3 separate regions of the Homo sapiens genome follow, and all the other regions are linked to region 1. Evidence: promoter capture Hi-C in 16 types of primary human blood cells and fetal thymus (Javierre and others, 2016). All regions are on one chromosome and are shown on one strand. Each heading gives the region's core, a stretch centred on a gene start or on the middle of the fragment in contact. The rest is flanking DNA. Distances are from core to core; before and after follow the strand shown.

Region 1 (3,024 bases), core at 153-2,652:
TGACTGGCTGGTCCAAGGTAGACAGGGTATTTTTTTTTCCAAGTGGAGCATAAGAAAAGGGATTTCTGGCAATAAAACTGAAAGTTTTAAGACACCTCTTGCAAATATCAGTGACTGGAGTAAAGGTCCCATGGAAAAGTAATAAGGTGAATGTAAATTTATTAATGAATAACAAATAGTTTGATACAGAGTTGAACAAGACAGTTTCAGCATCAACAATTACATGAAGCTCCCAAGAAAAATTTCTTTTTGAGTTTTATAATGTATTATTTTTTCCACGAAATATATATATTTTAAATTCTCAGTTTAATTCTTCATCAGTAGTATTAATAAAACAAATTATTCTGGGTCTGATTTACCTGACATAAAATAATTATTAAATGTTCTTTGTATTTTCCTCCAAAATCCCTGACGGTTTTCTGTGTTAATTTTAAGCTTTCAAAGGGCAAGAATTATGAAATATTTGCCTTTGTAGTCCCACAGCTCATAACACAGCATGATTCAGCTGCAGGTATTTAACCCACACACATAGTTACCTTTGTCACTTTTCTACTAGTTGTTGTGTAATGGGTTAGCTTTATCTATTAGTTTCTCCTTCATATAGCTCAAGGAGTCAAGGAATACACGTTCTCATTGTTTCTAAATCAGACCTAAAGTTTTATTCTAAATGATGCAGATGAAGGGGCTTATTAAAGTGCCATTGTGAATTTAATCATGTATATGCTGCTAAAAATCATTTAATGGATGAACAACCCGGAAAAAAAGAACTCTCACCACCCACACACATCGTGATAAAATAGGGCAGCGTTTTGCACTTGCTTTAACAGCATCGCCTGAGAAAAAAATTTCTGGTTCCCATCTTTCCCCTCTCTTACTTAAAATTTCAACTTCATCACAGTCAGCTGCCGAATCGTTCAACAGAATGCCACACTGCCTTTGTATTTCCAAAACTATACGTCTCTATTGCGGACGGCACATCTTTATGGCAGCCACATGCTTGAAAAAGAATTAAATTCAGAATATTCATTTGGCCTCTTATTAGTTCCATAATACCATTAAAAAAGAAAGAAAGAAAGAAACTTCCTCGCCCTTGTTCTGCTACGCTGTTCCCATCGTAAGATGCTCCGTGGAAGGGAGCCGAGCGGTGGGCAGAGGCTGAGTCCCCGATAACGAGCGCCTCACATTTCCGTGGCATTCCCATTTGCTAGTGCGCTGCTGCGGCCGCACGCCTGATTGATATATGACTGCAATGGCACTTTTCCATTTGACATTCTCTCTCTCTCTCTCCCTCTCTCTCTCTCCCTCTCTCTCTCCCTCTCTCTCTCTCCCTGTGTCGCTTAAACAACAGTCCTAACTTTTGTGTGTTGCAAATATAAAAGGCAAGCCATGTGACAGAGGGACAGAAGAACAAAAGCATTTGGAAGTAACAGGACCTCTTTCTAGCTCTCAGAAAAGTCTGAGAAGAAAGGAGCCCTGCGTTCCCCTAAGGTAAGCAGGAAAACAAGCGCTGCCGGCTTGCCTAGGAAATCGCTTCTTTCCAAACCGAGCATTTCATCCTCCTCTCAGACAAAGAGACAACCTTTAAATACCACTTAAATTTGCATTACTTTAATTTGCATTAATCTGTAGCATGCTAGCATTGTGTTTCTTAAATGAACGGGTCTTTGAAGTCTGTGACAGAGCAGGGAGCCTCCTAGAAAAGCTTGAAAATATCTTTTGGTTTGACTTAAAGAGATTTTTCTTTTCAAACTCTCTGCGTAGTTAGATGTAACTTTGTGATGGTTCTTATAGTTGACCCCGTGAAAGGGGGCTGCGAAGCAGCAACTTGCCAACATGGATTCATGGAGCCCAGTATCTTCCCCAGCACCCTCATCCCACTTACAATGGGGGCACTATTAACGCAGGCAAGACTGCGAGTTTAAAAGCGCACTGTTTACTTTTATTACTACTTATGTATGCTGCTGATCTCCTGCCAGGGCTCTGCCGGAGTGCTCAGAATGACTTCAAACAATAGGCAACATTTATTTCTAGCTTTCTGTGTCACGCTTTGCAGGAATCCTGCTCCCTTGCACTCTTCTTTCAGCGTGCAGGTCTTCGCTTCCATAGATGCATTGGGGAGCACCGGGAGGAGATGAGGATGGATTTACTGTATGATTTTGATTGGGCAAAAAGTCCGAGGAAATGCATGCTGTTTGCCTTGGACTTATTGCAGGGGGTTATTTTTAGTCATCAGCTCGTCCCTGCAGCATGATGTTCAAGGAGTGACCGGGAAAGGATGCTCCCACCAGCACAGAGACCAGGACCTGTAGGAATGACTCCTACCTGCGGGATATTCCGAGGTTTCTTTCAAACTTTGGAATACAAGTTCTCTCTTTAAATGAACAATTGAGCTGTAGGAGGCCTGGGCATAACTCTTTCTTGGGGGACGGGAAGTTTGATTGTGTACAGAATGTTAATGACTCAGAACGCCCAGTAACTGAGGCTCATTGTAATAGACAAACCCAGATAAGCCTCCATGAGAGGCAGACTCCCATCTTTACTGAGATTCAGGTGCGGGAAAGGAAGCTATTTGGCAAGATGGGAGTCCCTTGTACAGTTCTTTGTAACTCATTAATAACAGATATGGCTGCTGTGAAACATGTCTCTTTTCATTTCTAATATTAGTGTATTTTAATTACAAGGAGCTGGCATTGGCAAATTACCCCAACACATAAGATTAAATACCAGGTGCATTTGAAAACAGAGAGATGACTGAAATGGGGAGTTGCTGTGGGTGTCAACCAAATACAGCGGGGACGGCACAATGCTTCTCAACTGAGCGTTTAAACCAGATGCAAATATCTGCTCATTTTCTTCTCATCAGTCTTACTAATTCAAGGAAACTTTATGGTCCTGTTTGCCAGTTTTCATTGCAAATTGGTACACAGTTTATGCAAAACTTTTCTGATTTTCTCTGATAACCAGCCCAATAAGCATCGCTGAATGAAAATCTGATATTTGAATAGGTTAATTTACAACTTTGGG
Region 2 (3,024 bases), core at 266-2,765, 410 kb before region 1:
TTCCTTGAATATGCCATTTGTTTTCATTCTTTGGGTCGCTGTACATGTGGAATATTGGGGTTTCTCTGATGAATTCCTACTTATCTTTCTAAACTGAATTCATGTATCTGAAACCTTTTCTGATCCACTTAAACTCTATCTCCTCTACTTACTCCATGTCCTGTATACCTGGTGCTTTAGACATTTGTGTTTTTTTAACCTGTTTTATTTTTATTTTGTTGTTGTTGTTGTTTTGTTTTGTTTTGAGACGGAGTCTCACTCTGTCGCCCAGGCTGGAGTCTAATGGTGCGATCTTGGCTCATTGCAACCTCTGCCTCCTGGGTTCAAGCCATACTCCTGCTTCAGCCTCCTGAGTAGCTGGGATTACAGGCTCTCGCAGCCACTCCCAGCTAATTTTTTTATATTTTTAGTAGAGACAGGGTTTCACCATGTTGGCCAGGCTGGTCTCGAACTCCTGACCTCAGGTGATCCACCCACCTCGGCCTCCCAAAGTGCTGGGATTACAGGTGTGAGCCACTGTGCCCAGCCTTTTTAACCTGTTTAATTGTCCTATTAGACTTTTAACTCCTTGAGCACAGTGACTTTGTTTTCTTTAATATTTGTATCTCCAATACCCAGAAGGCATATGATAGACATTAAATAAATGTTTAGTCCACGAATAAATAAAAAATGAATACATAGTCAATTTAAATAAATTTGGGGAAGATAAGGATTTGAAGAAGAGCATGTGCAAGAGAGTCATTATTTGAAATAATCTCCCAGGAGTAAAAGTTGAAGGCCATTGATCTGCAAGATTTGGGCACCAGATGATATAGAAGAATTCTCAGGAAGTAAGAGCCTTATTTGAATAAGATGTGATTATGATTGATTTCAAATATTTCTTTGCCTTGGAAGCTTTGACTTTGCTTTATATAGGATTGTATGTTACAGACACATCAACTACACAGCAAAGAAAAAAAGAGGTAAAAATCAGACCCATACGCAAACTCAGTACTAAAAATGTAGTTGCAATTCCACACACAACAGATGAGGTGTGGACTTAAAAAAAAAAAGTGACTGAAGTGAAGAAGAAATGTTGCCCAGAGGTGTATTTTTATTTTTGTTATTTTACTAAGTACCTGCATATAAAAATTGATATTAAAAGCAGCTGAAGCAAATTCTAATGGGTGGGGAATGATTTTAAAACAGAAACAGTGGGCCACTGCACTTTCTTGTAATTACTCATCTGGGTAAGGGCTTCAAAATGTATTAGCCATAAAGGAAAGACTTCAGACAGACATCTGCAACCCAAAATGCTTAGGCTGTTTCAATTATGATGACTATTTTAAGTATTCACTCACTCACTCTCTCTCTCCCTTTTTTTTTTTTTTTTTTTTTGAGATGGAGTCTTGCTCTGTCACCCAGGCTGGAGTGTGGTGGCGTGATCTCACCTCACTGCAACCTTCACCTCCCAGGATCAGTCGCTTCTCCTGCCTCAGCCTCCCAAGTAGCTGGGATTACAGGCACCCGCCATCACACCTGGCTAATTTTTTCCTTTATATTTTTAGTAGAGATGGGGTTTCACCATGTTGGCGAGGGTGGTCTCGAACTCCTGACCTCAAATGATCCACCCACCTTGGCCTCCCAAAGTGCTGGGATTACACCGTTTCCGATCCTTCTTTCTCTCTCTCTCTCTCTCTCTCTCTCTCACACACACACACACACACACACACCCTCAAGGCCCAAATATATGTTGATTCATTTTACTAAAAGGCCTTTGCTTTAGATCTTAAGAGATGGGAATAATGACACAAGCCACGAGGAGAGAAAAAAAAGCACCCATGAGATAAACTGTTACCTCAGTGCAGTAAAGAGTTAACATAGAGTCCTAACTGCTTATCCTTAGAAAGGCTTGCTCACAAGGTTGGCTCTTAGCTGGTATCCCAGAACTTGAATTTCAGGAGGGTTCCCACCATTTCTAGAATTGGTAAGAGTGGCTCACTGTGCCTAAACTTCATGCAAGCAATGCGGTTTATGCTGAACATCTATCTGCTTTCCTTCTGGGAGTCTGGAATTTGGGTACCTGCCAGGCAAGGGGTACTTCCATGACCAGCCCCCCAGGAAAAGCCCTGGGTGCTGAATTTCTAATAAGCTTCCCTGGTAGACATTTCAGAACTCATTGCTGGGGAAATCAAGTACATCCCTTGTGACTCCACTGGGTGAAGATTCTTGGAAGCTTGCTCCTGGTTTCCTCCAGACTTCACCCCCATGTGCCTTTTGCTTTTGCTGATTTTGCTTTGGGTCTTTTGGCTGTGATATATCCGCACCATGAGTATAACGGTATGCTGAGTCCTGTAAGTCCTCCTAGCAAATTATGGAAACTGAGGATAGTCTTTGGGGTCCCCCACTCCTCCAACAGCAGTTTGGATGCTTTTACAACCTTACTTGAAAATTATTCTTATTTAATACTCTCATACCCTCTCCTAGCATATTTTCCTCTTGGATGTGCTGCAAATATCCAGTCACAGAAGAGCCGGCGTTTAAAAACAAATTTCATTGTTACATACATAGTCCTACAAAACAAAATATAGCTAGAAGTTAAAATTTCCCCCCAAATAAGCCAGCCATTTCTGTCTAAACTTAAAGTATTAGAATATTGTAACTGACTTGATGAAAAAATCCATAGGCACTTGCCACCTTTTGGGAATATTCTGTTTCCCTGTCAAGTCACCTGCCAGACTTTCTAAAAAAGAGGAATGTCTGAGATTTCTTTTTTTCTCTTTCCCACCTGGCAAATCTCTACTCAGCCATTGTGTTAGTCTGTTCTTGCGTAGGTATAAAGGAATACCTGAGCCTGGGTAATTTATAAAGAAAAGAGATTTATTTGGCTCACGGTTCTGCAGGCTATAGAGGAAGCATGGTGCTGGCATCTGTTTCTGGTGCAGCCTCAGCAAGCTTCCAATCATGGTGGAAGGCGATGGGAAGCCAGCATGTCATATGGTAAGGGTGAGAGCAAGAGAGAGGGGAAGGTGCCACACGCTTTTA
Region 3 (3,024 bases), core at 188-2,687, 370 kb before region 1:
ACAGGTAATTACAATGTAGTAGGATGAAAGCCACGATCAGAATAGACACCAAATACAGATGGAGGCGGCAGGAAGAAGGTGAAAGAATATATTGAAGAAATGGCAATACCTTCTATGCCCCACTCCCACGCTGGCCTCAAGTCCTGAAAGACAAGAAGGGGTTACTTATGTGAAAGATAGGAAGGAAGGGTGTTTCTAGACGATAGTGTTATTTGCAAAAGCCCCAAGAGGAGAAACCGCAGAGCCTGATTTAGAAACTGCCAGTGGTTTCTCAGAGCTGGAGTAGATGGAGGAGGGGGCAAAGAAAGGGATGGAGGGCATTGGTAGGTGCCCTCTGACAAAAGCTCCTCAGACCAGGCTATAAGGAGTTTCACCACCTTCTGAAGGCGGCGGGAAGGCTAGATTATTGAAGCAGAAGAGTAACAGCTGCACCATGAATTATAAAAACGACGGCTCTGGAGGCAAGATCAGTTAGTTTTTTGTGTGTGTTTGTTTTTCTTTTTAAAGAAGAAAACCAGGCAAGAAACAATGGGATCGCAGCTGAAATAGACGAGGTGGTGACTGAGAGAGAGCATCGAGTCCAACCTTTAGGGCTTCAGGGAGGGATTAGACGTAGGTGTCGGGAGAGGAGGTTCCTGGCCCGGCTATCTTGGGGTGAACGATGGAGTGACAGGGGTTGCGATTTGTGACACCTGACTCCGCCCCGGCCACCCCTGATTGGGCCTTACAAACGTTTAGTTCAAATACAAAAATGGGCCGGACACGGTGGCTCATACCTGTAATCCCAGCACTTTGGGAGGCAGAGGCGGGAGGGCTGCTTGAGCCCAGGAGTTCGAGATCGGCCTGGGCAACATAGTGAGACCTTGTCTTAAAACAACAAACAAACAAACAAACAACAAATATAAAAATATCCAGAAGAAAAACTGAAGGCGGTGGTTACCATTACAACGCGTTTTCGTCAGGGTATATGTGGCTTTAGATTCATCTTGAACGTTTTAATTACAAAATAAAAGCTGATGTCTATGCAACATAGGAAAATATCGACTTGTGTAACATCTCAGTGAGCACACGGGCGTCATATTACTTTCTGTACTTTGCTGTGTGTTTGAACCACATAGCAAAAAACTGTTGGCGACAAGAATTGGAAAAGCAAGAAAGTACAAGAAAGGCTTTGAGTTCTATAAGGGGGTTAAACCAGAAAGCGGCGGGGGCAGGGAACAGTCAATCTTTGTGTGTGCACACTGCGTGTGCAGAGAGAAGACTCCTCAGGAGACCAGGACCTGGCTGAGTGTGTGCGGGGATGAAGCGGGTGGAGGGGAACTGGGGCTGGGGAGGAGGTACGCGCCGCGGAGGTGTCCCCCGCCCCCCACGATCCTTCTCGCCAACCCCCCGCCCCTCCTCCCTCCGTGACGCCGCTTCCCGTCTCCAGGCAACGTGGGGGCCAAACAACACGGCCGGGAGGCGCCGCTGCCTGCCGGGCCCTCTCTTCTGGGACCCTGGATTTTCGGACACTGAGCGCCATGGCCCTGCCTCTGCTGCCGGGCAACAGCTTCAACCGCAACGTGAGTAGGAAGGGCGTCCGAGGTCACAGCTCCCGGCTGGAGTCTGGGGTCCAGGCAGGGTCGTGGCGTGGCCACCTCCGCAGACTCTCCTGGAGGCCCCATGCTGCTGCCCTGGGTTGGTGGCAACTTGGACCAAACTTTATAGGCTGCTTCTCCCATCTCTCCAGCTGCATCTGAATGTTTTTCCTAATTTAGAAATATATAGAGAGAGTCCTTATAGGTGGCAGGACCCTCAAAGGTAACAAATAATAGTGACGATAACCATTGGGGGTTTAATGTGTGCCAGGCGCTGTGCTTTAATCACCTTATGCAGCATCCAGTGTCCCAACAGCCCTTTGAATTAGGTAGTTTTTATTCCCAGTTACTATTGAGGAAACTGAGGCACAGAACCACACAGTCTCAGTGGTGAAGCTGGGTTTCTTTCAAGCAACCTTGTCTCCACAGCTCAGGAGCCTAATCATTATCCCCAGTATCCTGTGTGAAAAAAGATACCGTTTCAATTATCAAATTGAAGAAATCTGGCACTTATCAAGAGGGGTAGGTGGCAGATAAGAGTTCTATCAGCCTGTAAAGTTTACTCCCAAACTTTATAGAGACAGGCACCCAAACTTGGAGGGATTTTTTTTTTCTCTATTTATAATTGGGAGGGGTTCATTTCTTTTTTTTTTTTTGAGACGGAGTCTCGCTCTGTCGCCCAGGCTGGAGTGCAGTGACCCGATCTCGGCTCACTGCAACCTCCACCTCCCAGGTTCAAGCGATTCTCCTGCCTCAGCCTCCCGAGTAGCTGGGATTACAGGCGCCCGCCACCACACCGGCTAATTTTTGTATTTTTAGTAAAGATGGGGTTTCACCATGTTGGCCAGGCTGGCCTCGGACTCCTGACCTCAAGTGATCTGCCCGCCTCGGTCTCCCAAAGTGCTGGGATTACAGGCTGAGCCACTGCGCCTGTCCTGGAGGGGTTCATTTCAAAAGAAGATGAACGTACAGAACAAAGCAACACAACACAAAAAACCCTGAGCATGAAAGAACTTTTGCCAATAAATAGCACCTCATTTAAACGACAGCAGGAAAATGATTCAGGCTTTTGTTTATACTGGTTACTACCCTTCACTTGGGTCAGCCATCTGTGTCTGCAGGAGAAGCTAATTCCCAATTAGATGGGAGGGAATTAGATGGAGCCACTCAAGGCAATTGTGTAAACCTTTGATAACTTTAGAAAGCAGGCAGCAGATTGAAGTATTTGGCTTTATGGTTTCCAAACACTGTCTGTATCTAAGTTGTTGGCCCTGAAGTACAAGTTTTTTCTTTGTAGCTTCACGCCATTGAATTCTGACCCCTACACGTCTGGTCAGTCCAACTTTGAACACTGATTTGTGCATTTCTTGGTTGATGGGCAGAGGCTGGCCTTCCAGCATAGCATTGCCCTTTGGTAAGTTTAAGCCAGTCACGCAAACAAGAAAGG

Evidence for each region. Contacts are between HindIII fragments. The CHiCAGO score rates a contact against its expected background, and 5 or more counts as called.
Region 2: a contact is called between a fragment that was not itself captured here and the fragment with the promoter of NDP in region 1, in 1 of 17 cell types (non-activated CD4 T cells). The highest score is 5.0, in non-activated CD4 T cells.
Region 3: the fragment with the promoter of EFHC2 here is called in contact with the fragment with the promoter of NDP in region 1 in 12 of 17 cell types (non-activated CD4 T cells, total CD4 T cells, total CD8 T cells and 9 more); the score reaches 13.7 in non-activated CD4 T cells.

The regions. Positions count from the first base shown.
Region 1 is chrX:43,971,768-43,974,791 of GRCh38, reverse strand. It overlaps NDP (norrin cystine knot growth factor NDP), which reads left to right and starts at 1,402. Exons shown (of 3, transcript NM_000266.4): 1 at 1,402-1,488. The HindIII fragment of the contact is 1,267 bases long and covers 438-1,704 here.
Region 2 is chrX:44,377,578-44,380,601 of GRCh38, reverse strand. No RefSeq gene overlaps it. Among named protein-coding and RNA genes, the nearest start is that of EFHC2, 35 kb to the right of the region's middle. The HindIII fragment of the contact is 1,237 bases long and covers 897-2,133 here.
Region 3 is chrX:44,342,085-44,345,108 of GRCh38, reverse strand. EFHC2 (EF-hand domain containing 2) reads left to right here and starts at 1,437. Exons shown (of 15, transcript NM_025184.4): 1 at 1,437-1,562. The coding sequence starts at 1,521. The HindIII fragment of the contact is 28,191 bases long and covers 1-3,024 here.